Linked DNA regions of Homo sapiens: region 1 is linked to region 2. Evidence: promoter capture Hi-C in 16 types of primary human blood cells and fetal thymus (Javierre and others, 2016). All regions are on one chromosome and are shown on one strand. The core of a region is centred on a gene start or on the middle of the fragment in contact, and the rest is flanking DNA. Distances in the headings are between cores, read along the strand shown.

Region 1 (5,761 bases), core at 6-2,505, 200 kb after region 2:
AACTCACTCACAGTTTGGGGGACAACACCCCCATGATCCAATCACCTCCCACCAGGTTCCTCCCTTGACATGTGGGAATTATAGGGATTACAATTTCAGATGAGATTTGAATGGGGACACAGAGCCAAATTATATCAGGGAGGAAGTGATCAGGGAAGGCTTCATGAAGGGGGTGATCTGAGGGGTGGACAGGATTGTGGAAGTGGGGAGAGCATTCCAGGTGGAAGGAGCAGTGTGAGCAAAGGCCTAGAGATGGGAGATCATGGGGCAGGTGGTGATGGTGGGGGGACTGGGGAGCGTCTTGGGGGTAGAGGTTATGGGAGTCTGCTTAGATATCTTTCTGGACATTTTGGTCAGGGTTGGATTCAGAGTATGTCCGCAGGAAAGAAGTGAAGGGGGCAGAGTGGTATCAATAGGTCCTTTGGGTAACCTGCTGGGAATCTGAATGTATGGAGATTCTGAATGTCAGGGCTGGACAACCCTGGCAGAGGCTAAGGGAGAAAGATGAACATGTCCTCTCTGTCCAGTTTTTCGTAAGTTAGAGGATGATGATATCTTTAGTGAAATGGCACTAGCTAGAGGCAGAAGACCAACATCACACTTTGCAGCCACCGTTTGCTTCAAAATCTGCCTTGGGCTCCAGCATCCACTATTGGGTTTTTGGGCATCATGCCCAGGGTTCATGAAGCCATAGAGAAAATATAGTGGCTCTGCCTGCCTGGAGGGTAGTTTTACCTGAGGATTTGGGGGCAAAGACATTTATTAGTATTAAAACAGATGCACAGGTATTAAAAATGGAATGCACAATTTACATGAATATTTAAAATAGGATACTTCATACAATTGTTAAAGCTTACCTTTGGTGGGATCTGTGGGTTCCAATACTTGGTTTTTAGAGTGGCCTCAAGCAAGATAATCTCTCTACCTCAGCTTTGGCTTCTGTAAAATGGGAATGACAACAGTATCTGCCTCCTGGGGTTGTGAGAATTAAATGAGATAACCCAAGTGAAGTGCCTGGCACGTGGTGAACAATTAATAATGTTGGTTGTCATTATTAGCATTCTCTCCTAGGCTCTTTAGGGCACTTTGAGGGGTAGAGCATGCTGGCAGGAGACTTCAGAGGCCCTGTCCATAGACTCGAACCCCGGCTCCCTCGCCTGCTGTTCACCACCTTCACCAGCCTGATCCCTCCCCACCTCTTCCACCACGTCCCATCCACAGACCCTCTTCTCTTTATTCTCCCCAGGAGATGCAACCTTCACTTGTCTTGATTTCTGTTTGAAGAAGGCTTTCCTCTCCCCAACCTTTGCTCCCCCTTTGTGACTTCCTTTTTTATGGAGTGGCAGGTGCCTGCTCCCTTCCCCGAGCTCCTTCAGCTGTTGGTTGTACCTCTACAAGCTGCTCTGTACAGCTGCCTCTCCTTTTGTGTATCAGCCAGCTATGTGACCTGGGCCACTTCACTACCCTGTCTGGGCCTCAGCCATCTATAGGGAATGGTGTGCCCACCTCTCTGCATCATCAGAGTTGTAATCCTGGTCCATTCTTGGTGCATTCCTGGCTGATAGATTGTTCATGGAAAAGGGCAGTTTCTCTCTTCCCTCAGAAGGCAGAATTTGTGTGTATGCCTCATAATATTTAGTCTCCCTTGTGTCCAAAACTAAGCTTGGGTACATCAGAGGGTCATTAAAGATGTGAACAAAACCTCAAGGAATGGAATAATTATCTAGATGTTGATTCTTACACAGACCCCTTTAGAGACAAAACAGAGAGGCCTAGAAAAAAGACAACAAGTTCATATGCAACATGGCGTGACACTTTGCCAGGAAACAAGAACATCGAGTGTCAAATTGCTAATCTGTTTTTTGTTTTTGTTTTTTTTTTTTTTTGAGACAGAGTCTTGCTCTGTCACCCAGGCTGGAGTGCAGTGGCACTATCATGACTCACTGCAACCTCCGCCTCCCAGGTTCAAGCGATTCTCCTTCTCCTGCCTCAACCTCTCAAGTAGCTGGGACTACAGGTGCACGCCACCATGCCCAGATACTTTTTGCATTTTCAGTAACAACAGGGTTTCACCATGTTGGCCAGGCTGGGTCTCGAACTCCTGACCTCAAGTGATCCGCCTGCCTCAGCTTCCCAAAGTTCTGGGATTACAAGTGTGAGCCACTGAACCCAGACAAATTGCTAAGCTTTAAATAACTACAGCCTTGACTCACAGGCTACAGGTAAACACATCCCATAGTCCCAGATGCCTTAGTTTAGGGGCATGGACAGGAGGATTCCCTGAGGCAGTGGTCTACACAGAGAGGAAAAGCAACGCCGTTTCCAGACTTGCACTGCAGCTCTGCCACACAGTCATAAACTTAGTCTCAGTGTTCTTATCTGTAAGATGGAAGTGACTCCTGTTAAGTCAGTCTCACAGGGCAATTGTGAAGATCCAATAAAAATGAAATAGAACAGTGGGATTATTATGAATGAAGGAAGCACAGCCAGATCAGTGTCTGGCATAGGTGTTTGGTAGGTGGGCTCAGGCACTGGGAACAAGGAGCCATCTCAACAGGTAAATGGTTTCTCCAGCCCAGTGCTATTCAGAGAGAGTGCTTAGATCACCAATGTCAGAATTACCTGGTAGCTTATTAAAATATGATAGAAGCAGGGCTCGGTGGGTCACACCTGTAATCCTAGCACTTTGGGATGCCGAGGTGGGTGATTTTAAAGCAATCACCATTCTGTCTCCAAAAACAAAACAAAACAAAACAAATATATATATATATTATATACATGTAATATATATTATATATGTAATATATATACATTATATATGTTATATATATACATTATATATGTAATATATATACATTATATATGTTATATATATATAACGAGTTGTGATAGCAGGCATCTTTGTATTGTTCTTGGTTTTAATGAAAAGAAATGCTTTTAACATTTCACCATTTAATATGGTTGCTGTGTGTGTGTGTGTGTGTATAAGTAATCTTTTCATCTTTATCAGATTAAGGGTATCACTTCATATTCTAGTTTGCTAGGATTTTTTCCCTCATAATTTTTTTTATTTTTTTGGAGATGGAGTCTTGCTCTGTTACCCAGGCTGGAGTACAGTGGCAAGATCTCGGCTCACTGCAACCTCCGCCTCCCAGGTTCAAGCAATTCTCTGCCTCAGCCTCCCAAGTAGCTGGGATCACAGGTGTCCGCCACCACACCAAGCTAGTTTTTGTATTTTTAGTAGAGATGGGGTTTCACTATCTTGGCCAGGCTGGTCTTGAACCCCTGACCTCGTGATTCACCTGCCTTGGCCTCCCAAAGTGCTGGGATTACAGGCGTGAGCCACCGCATCTGGCCTTCCCTTATGAATTTTATTTTATTTTATTTTATTTTATTTTATTTTATTTTATTTTATTTTATTTTATTTTATTTTATTTATTTATTTAGAGACAGAGTCTTGCTTTGTCACCCAGGCTGGAGTGCAGTGGCGCAATCTCGGCTCACCGCAACCTCTGCCTCCCAGGTTCAAGCGATTCTCATGCCTCAGCCTCCCAAGTAGCTGGGACTACAGGCAAGTGCCACCATCCCTGGCTAATTTTTGTATTTTTTAATAGAGATGGGGTTTCATCATGTTGGCCAGGCTGGTCTCAAACTCCTGACCTCAGGTGATCCACCTGCCTCAGCCTCCCAAAGTGCTGGGATTACAGGCGTGAGCCACCGTGCCCAGCCTCCTTTATGAATTTTATAGAACTCTTTATTCCTATCATCTTTTGAGATGATCATATATGATTCATTTAAGTTGTTAGTGTGGTGATACACTGATTAATTTGCTAATGTTAAACCAATTTTTTGTTTTTGGTTTAAATACAGCTTGATTGTGATAGATCTCTTTAATCTATTGCTAGAGTCAGTTAGCTAATATTTTGTTCAGGATCTTTAAGTCTATTAATGAGTTGGCCTATAATGTTTTCTTCTTATGCTGTCCTTGCCTGGACTTGGGATTCAGGTTACGCCAACCACAAGTGAGTTGGAGATTGCTGCCTATTTATTCTATGGGGAAAAATATCTAATATTAGAATTATACATTCCCGAGTAGTTGGTAGAATTTGTCTGTGAAATTACCTGGGCGGAGCCACCATATTGCCCAACTCTAAGGGGGCACCATTTCCCTTTTAGTCTACGTGAATGGCAACCTCTGGAGTTATGCAGGGAACAACTTGGCCCTACAGCTGAATTTTCTTGATGGAAAGATTTTTTTATAACAGCCTAGTTGAGACACAATTCACATATTATAAAATCCACCCTGTAAAAGTGTACAATTCAGTGTTTTAGTTTGTTGAACACAGAGTATATTGCACAAAACCATCACCATGATCACCAGTTTTTAGAACATTTTCATCACTCCAGAAAGAACTACACCCGTTAGCAGCCATTTTCTATTCCCTTAGTTCCTGGCAACCACCTAACCTACTTTCTGTCTGTATGGATTTGCCTATTGTGGATATCTCCCACAAATGGGATTGTGCAAATATGTGGCCTTTTCTGACTGCCTTCTTTCACTTAGCAGGATGTTTTCAAGGTTCATCTATGCTGTAGCATCTATCAGTACTTTGTTTTAATGGCCAAATCATAGTCTATTGAATGGATATACCATAGTTTGTTTATCCATTCATTAGTTGATGAACAGGTGAGTTGTTTCTATTTTTTGGATATTATAAATATGCTGCTGTGAACATTCATGTACAAGTCATTTAGGTGGACAAGTTGTCAGTCTCTTTGGTGTACAACCCAGGAGTGGAGTTGCTGGATCATATGGTAACTCCATGCTTCCAAGTATATGGAGTTTTTATACTACTGATTTAACTTAATTGATCTTGGTCTGAGAATGCCCCCTGTATTATTCCAATCCTTGACGTTTGTTCAGACTAGCTTGATGGCCTAGCACATGAATAATTTTCATACATCTTCTAAGTGTGCCGATAAATAATGTATAGTCTCCAGTTGTTGGAGGAAGTATTCCATATTTGTCCATAAGATCAATTATCTTTATATTTTTACCAATTTTGTTCTACTTGATCTATGCATAATTGAGATGTGTTAAAAAATCTTCCACTATGGTGGCAAATTTGTAAATTACTTCTTGTAAGTTAATTTTTACTTTACGTATTTTGAGCCTGTGTTTTTTAGGTATATCCAAGTTTATAATTGTCCTATTTTCTATCTTCCCGATGTTGCAAAGGTATGATTTTGTAGTGATTATCTTTATATCTAGTAATGCTTTTTGCCTTGGAATGCATCCGATATTAATGTAACTACTCTAGCTTTTGTTATCATTTGTTTGGCTTATCTCCTTCCTTTGACTTTCAATCCTTCCCCATGATTATATTTTAGCTGTGTCTTGTGTAAACAGCACATGGTGAGATTTTATTAGTTTGACAATATTTGTTTTTTAGCTGACAGTTTAGTCTACTTATATTTATAATGATTACTGATATCCACATTTATTTTCATTGTCTTAAATGCTTTTGTCTTGTTTTCTCTATTTGTTCCTTGTTTCCCTTACTTTCTTTGGATTGAGTTTTACATTTCTCTTTTTTTTTCTTTTCATATGCTATTTTTCCCTTCCACCTGTTTTATAATTAATGTGTTAGAAATATGCTCTGCGTGGATTAGTTTAGTGGTCACTTCAGCTATTTTAACATGAATAGCTGTACTAGACAGGGTCAGGCTATGCTGAGTTAAAAATTACCCCATATAGCTC
Region 2 (6,053 bases), core at 1,108-3,607:
AAGTCAAATCGGCTTGGCCTGATTTTTAAGGCCTTTTACTATTTGATTTTTCTCTAATCTTACCTCCCGCTACTCTCTGCAGGAATCTTCTATCTGTCAAACCTGTCGACCTACAGCCCAGGCTCAGCCCACATCCTTTTCTCTGTGCTCAGGTTCACATTATTTTTCTCCTCTGAAAGGCCTCCGTTTCTGCCTTGGATTTATATGGCCAACGTAGTGTTTCATTATGACCCAGCTCAAGCCTCACAGCCATGTCTCCTCCTCTGGACTCTTCTAACAGCTTTTGTCTCAGCCACTTATTGGCACTCAAAGTGTGCAACTGTGTGTGGCCATTTTTCATATTATGCACAAGGTGTGGCTATAAGATAAGGAGACATAAATATGCAAGTTTTCAAACCAGGACAAGGGACAGGGAAAAAAAAAAAAAAAAGAAGAGTTGCCAAAGAATCAGGAGAATGTAGTTAGGCAGCTACTAAGGGAAGAGATGTCAGCATTGTCAATAAGCTGAGAGAGGTCATGAGAAAGATACCCCAAAATAGACCATTATTCTAGAAGGTAAGAGGTCTTTTGTAACCATTGAAAGAATAGCAGATTGTGTGAGCAAAAGCAACGCTGTAGTGGGAAAAATAAGAGATGAGAAAGTGGAGACAACAAGTATACTTTTATTTATTTATTTAGAGACAGGGCCTCAATCTGTGGCCCAGGCTGGAGTGCAGTGGCTTGGTCACAGTACACTGCAGCCTCAACCTCCCACACTCAAGCGATCATCCCATCTCAGCACCCCGCCTCCCCCACCGCGAATAGCTGGGACTATAGGTGTGTGCCACCACACCCGGCTAGTTTTTTATTTTTTGCATATAGGGGAGCCTTATTATGTTCCCAGACTGGTTTCAAACTCCTGGCCTCAAGCAATCCTCCCACCTTGGCATCCCAAGGTGCTGGGATTACAGGCATGAGCCACAGTGCTCAGCAGCAAATATAATGTTTCCCAAGAAGTGTGATTCCTAGGAGAAAGGAGAAGGTAGTTTGGGTGGAAGAGATTGGGTGGCTTTGTTCTGTTCAAAGGATGGGCGAGACTATGTTTGTGGGAGAAAGATTTAGGTTAGAGGAAGAAATTAATAATGGGGAAAGAAAGAATAGCTGAATAAAATCTGGGAATGGCTGGGATCCAGGGCACAGGTGCAAGATTTAACCTTGAGGAGAAAGGGCACTTCTTGCTGTGGGTGAGGGAGTGAAGAGGGTAAGATGAATGAAGGTACAGGATAGGCATAATAATGAAGAGCCTGGATTTAAGGGTGAAGCCACTGGCTCACATTATAGAGGAAAGGCTAGGAAAGCCGAATTTTCTGGGGCCAGGTCCAGATTTAATATATTTAAGTATAACAGTCTTAATTCATTCCTTTCACCTTATTCAGTGCCCTGGGTGTGCCAAATACTACTGGGCACTGGGGTCTACAAAGGTACGACTTTTCATGTAATGTTGGAATTTGTTATGTTGGTAACTCGAGATTTGCATATATTTAACAGTCTTAATTCATTCCTTTCACATTATTCAGTGCCCTGGGTGTGCCAAATACTACTGGGCACTGGGGTCTATAAAGGTACGACTTTTCATTAATTTTGGAATTTGTTATGTTGGTAACTCGAGATTTGCTTTTCATTCTTCTGGAAGGCTGTATGTAGAAATAAATACAGTCATCAGACGAGTTCTTTGTCAGACCAGATGTCCTGGGTTGGGGTTTGGAAAACATGGGCATCTTAACAATGGTGCCCTGTTTGAGGTGGAGAGGGAGGAGAGGCCCAAATCGGGGAAAGGAATTAAATGGAGGTTTAGACGCGGGTAACCGGAGTGGGTGGGCCTTCAACCTGGAAGATGGGAATCCCCAGCGCACTTCGGGCAGCGCTGTAACCAAGGGTAACCGCACCTCGGTTTACACCGGTGTGAAGACCAGCCTCTTCCCCAAACCAGGTGTATCTACGGCGGCCTAGCAGGACCACACACAAGCCAAGCACGTCACGTCATTCGAGCTACCTTACCGCGAAAGTCCACTGCCTCCTACTACTTCTGGTCACTACTACCTTTGCTCACAGTTTATTAAGGAGGAGCGGAGAAGAAGAGGGGCGGAGAAGGGGCGGGGAGAATCACCTTTCCTTTTTTACAATTGGTCGTAGTAGACTCCGAGTCCTGCCGCCCGTCCTGCAGCCGACAGGCTGCCAGGACTGTCACTCGAGGAGCTGCCGCTACCGCCCCCCGCCGTGGCCCCGCCCCTTGCCGTGGCTGGGATCTCGCGGGAAGAGCTGCGGGCACGGCGGTGGCTCGGTCTCCCGGCTGCGCGCGGAGCGGGAGGGCTCTCCTCACACAAGCGCTTCCTTGCCGAGAGGCTGGAGCTGCGGCACCGCAGGCCTGAGCCACCCCTTCTCTGCTGTCTCCTTCTCTTCCTCAGGGCTCCCGTGTCTGCTCGCCCTCCGACGCTGCTCAGGTTAGAAAGCCCGGAGCGCGTCTCCGCTGAGGAGCGGTCGGGGAGCGGGGACACGGAGCAGCCGGAGCAGGCGGGCTCCTGACGGGGGCGGCTCTGGGGGCTGCGCGGCGCTGCCTGGTGGGCGCGAGGCTTGGCGGGGTTTGGGAGTCCGGGGGGCGAGGAGGCGGTGCAGTGGGATCCGGGCGCGGGCGCCCAAGGGCGGTGTAGCGGGTGCCGGAGCTCCCGAGGTGAGGGGGCAATGTATTAGGGATCCTGGGGGCTCTTCCGGCTTGGGGTAGGGGTGGGTGGCGGCACACGGGGTCCTAGGTCTTTGACGTCGAGGGAGATTTATCAGGGTCTTGAGCTTCTTGGAGGTGGTGTAGCGGGGTTCCGGGACAAGGGGTCTTTTTACCCGGGTCCCGAGCTCTTTGGGGCAGAGAATGCAGTTTAGCAAGGTTTACACCGGTGTAAACCTTGTCTCTGGAGGCAGATCATCGGGGTCTTGGGGGTTCTTTGAGCGGGCGTGGGCGTCCGTTTCGCATTGCTGGGATGAAGAAGCAGTGTGTCCGGGTTCTGGGGAGAGGGGTCTGTTCATCGGTGTCTCCGGGTGAGAGAGCGATGTATCCGTTCCGCTGGGGCCGGGGCCGCCTTGGGGGGTTGTTGGGGGCTGAGGGTGTGTAGCGGCGACCAGCGTCTGGCCGGGGTTTCTGCTTTGCCCGGAGCGGGGCGGTAACTTGGCATGGTCTCCAGTCTTTTGGGGGCGACGGGGCGAGTTAGCTGGCCCCCGGGCAGTCTCTCGGGGTGGGCGCGGCTCCGCAGGCGCTGGGTCCGCTGAGGGCGGGAGAGGGCTTTGGTGCTACCGCGCAGGCTGGGCAGCATCCTGAAACGTTTTTGTTCAGGTCTCCTTCTCTCTGGATGAGATTTACTCAATGCTTAGTTGGAGGATTGATCGGTGTTGTTGCCTAGTTGAAGAAGCAGTGCGTTTGTTCTGCAGTTTTCTTTTCTCTGCCCCGGGATCCCTGTGGGGGCGCGCTGGTCTCGCTGGAGCTCCGGGAGCTAGAGTGGCAGCACCTTAGGTGGGCGTTTGGTCTGCAGGTTCTTTAGGAGGCCGGTGTCCGCAGGTTGAGCGTGGATACAGCTCCTGAGCAACTGGAATCTGTTGAGGGTGGGGAAGACTGATTTTGGCTTGCTTTCCTAGGTGGTGGTCTGCTTTGCTCATCCTGCATGATTAGATCTGTTCTGAAGTCTTGCCTGAGTGAATGTTAGGCAGAGTCGGATAGTGCAGGGAAGCGTGTTCTGTCTGGCTTCTTTCTGTCCTTTGAAAAGCATTTGTAGAGAGGGATAACGTCAAATTCAGCCTCCAGAAAACAATGGAATTTGAAATCCCAAAGCTAGAACTCTGCAAAAACGTTTTCTGTGACCTGTAAGGATGGTTAATCGAGCTTTTTTAGAGAATTCTGCTTAACAGTTTCATTGTATTGTAAAAGTGTATTTAGCCTTGGATATTACAGAGGTTTTGGTAACTAGCGTAGGCGTAGGTGGGATTTAAATAAAATGACTTGTATGTATGTGTATTGGTTAAAAAAAAAAACAGCGTATAGGTGAGAAAGCCTATGTGTTTGCCTGACATTTCTTTTGGTTAGTTACTCTATCACAGAGGCCTGTATATGAAAGTTAATGTGGCAGGCAGTGAAGTCCGTACTCAGAGCTGTTCTGTAAATATGTAATCTGGGGTTAACAGACAAATTTGAGTATACCAAAGCAAATAATTTTGCCTGCCTTAGTCTTTTTCTTCGTGTCAGTTTTTTTTTTTTCTTGTTTTTTGGTTTGTTTCTTTTGAAACAGGGACTTATTCCGCCTTCCAGGCTAGGTTGTAGCATCGCTACCATGGCTCACTGCAGCCTCGACCTCCAAAGCTCAAGCAGCCCTCCCAGTTCAGCTTCCCATCCCCACCCCCAGTAGAGGAGCTGGAACTACATGCATGTGCCACCACGCCTCACTAATTTTATTTATTTATTTATTCAATTAATTAAAGACAAGGTCTTGCGCTGTTGCCCAGTCTGGTCTTGAACTCCTGGCCTCAAGTGATCCTTCAGCCTCAGCTTCCCAAAGTACTGGGATTTAGAGGCGTGAGTCACCATGCCAGGCCTCTTAGATACAATTTTTTTTAAAAGATGTCATTTTTTCTGATCTTAGAACCAGACAGATTAGGGATAATGTACTTAATTTTGGAATTTTACATCATTTTGAAAAACAAAGGAATCCCGCACAGCAATATTTAAGACTTTGAAGGGTTTAAAATAAGTTTTGTTGTTGTTGTTATTCAGACCAAAATACCTGGTTGACATTTACAGCTATCACAACTGATTGCTTGAGCAGATATTTGGTTGGAATGACAGCCCCCAAACCTGTAAGCAGATCTTATTTTTCCTTTTTTTGAGAGAAAGACAAAGAACAAATTAAGCAGGTTTCAGAAACTTTTTTTTTTCTAAAAAGCAGCTTTCATCATTTCTAAGTAAGGCATAGACTGATAAGTCAACACATATTTGATTATCTGCTAGGTGTCACAGCGCTGGATGTACACTGATTAAAGCTGTCATGTGACTTTCCCCTTTAAGTCCAGAGAGAGGAAGAAAACAAATAAATACAGTTAAAAATTGTGATACTGCTAAGGAAGAAATACACAAGGTACTTAAGATTCAGCTCTCTTTTTTTAGTAACCCCTGAATGATGATACGATTGATGTGTGTTGTGATAATAAGAAACCAAGCAAAATAGTTAACTGCCTTCTGAATTAGTAAAGAAAGATTAAATTACAATCAGTAGAGTTTTAGGTGTTAAATGTATGTTGACTCTTTGTAGATGATTGTGCTACGTAAGCATACAAAAGCCTATAAGGATACACATCAGACTTAACCATGTTTGGATTCTTCAGGAGGGAGTTGCAGAGGCATAGAAGAGAGCGGTTTAATTTTATAGTTTTATATTACTTGAATCTATTTCAATGAGCAGACATTACTTTTAAGTACAAGTTAGAGAAACCCTAAAATTAAAACATTTCAGTCACTATGCAAATGGTGAAATGTACAGTATTTATAAGGCTTTTGTCAGTATTGCCAGTTGTACCCGTGTATACTAATGAAGGAAAAGGGTATTTCAAGTATCTGAAAATTATAAGGGTGTGCAGGGTGGGGTGGGTAGCACAACAAAATAAGAAAAGACACAGACCTAAGTAAAATGTTAAAACATGTTAAGTTTGTTGGATATTTAATTATGTAAAGATAAATTAATTTTAGGACTTTCTTTTATCAAATTTAATTGTTTCCTGAGTTTGCAAAAGGAAGTTTTTAGATTTCCTAGAGGAGAATAGGGTGGGGGAATAGGTATTCTTATTGTGGTACAGACTTCAGGAAATTTCTTTTTGTCAAACATATACACATCTGATAGATATATTTTGCTTGTGAAGCATACGAACCATACAAATAATTTTATAGTTTCATTATTACACTGCTGAAAATGACAGTACCAAAGTGTCTTTTGAATTATCATTCAGAGTTCTAGAATCATAAATATGATATACTAAAGCAGTTTCTA

What was found. The method cuts DNA at HindIII sites, captures the fragments that hold promoters and counts their contacts. A CHiCAGO score of 5 or more calls a contact.
Region 1: a contact is called between a fragment that was not itself captured here and the fragment with the promoter of GLCE in region 2, in 1 of 17 cell types (M2 macrophages). The highest score is 5.3, in M2 macrophages.

The regions. Positions count from the first base shown.
Region 1 is chr15:69,361,679-69,367,439 of GRCh38, forward strand. All of the region lies in intron 3 of PAQR5 (progestin and adipoQ receptor family member 5), which reads left to right. Among named protein-coding and RNA genes, the nearest start is that of KIF23, 50 kb to the right of the region's middle. The HindIII fragment of the contact is 810 bases long and covers 851-1,660 here.
Region 2 is chr15:69,158,278-69,164,330 of GRCh38, forward strand. GLCE (glucuronic acid epimerase) reads left to right here and starts at 2,358. Exons shown (of 5, transcript NM_015554.3): 1 at 2,358-2,480. It also overlaps the pseudogene LOC100421574. RefSeq lists an enhancer at 2,020-2,520 and silencers at 2,218-2,427, 2,628-2,737. The HindIII fragment of the contact is 10,275 bases long and covers 1-6,053 here.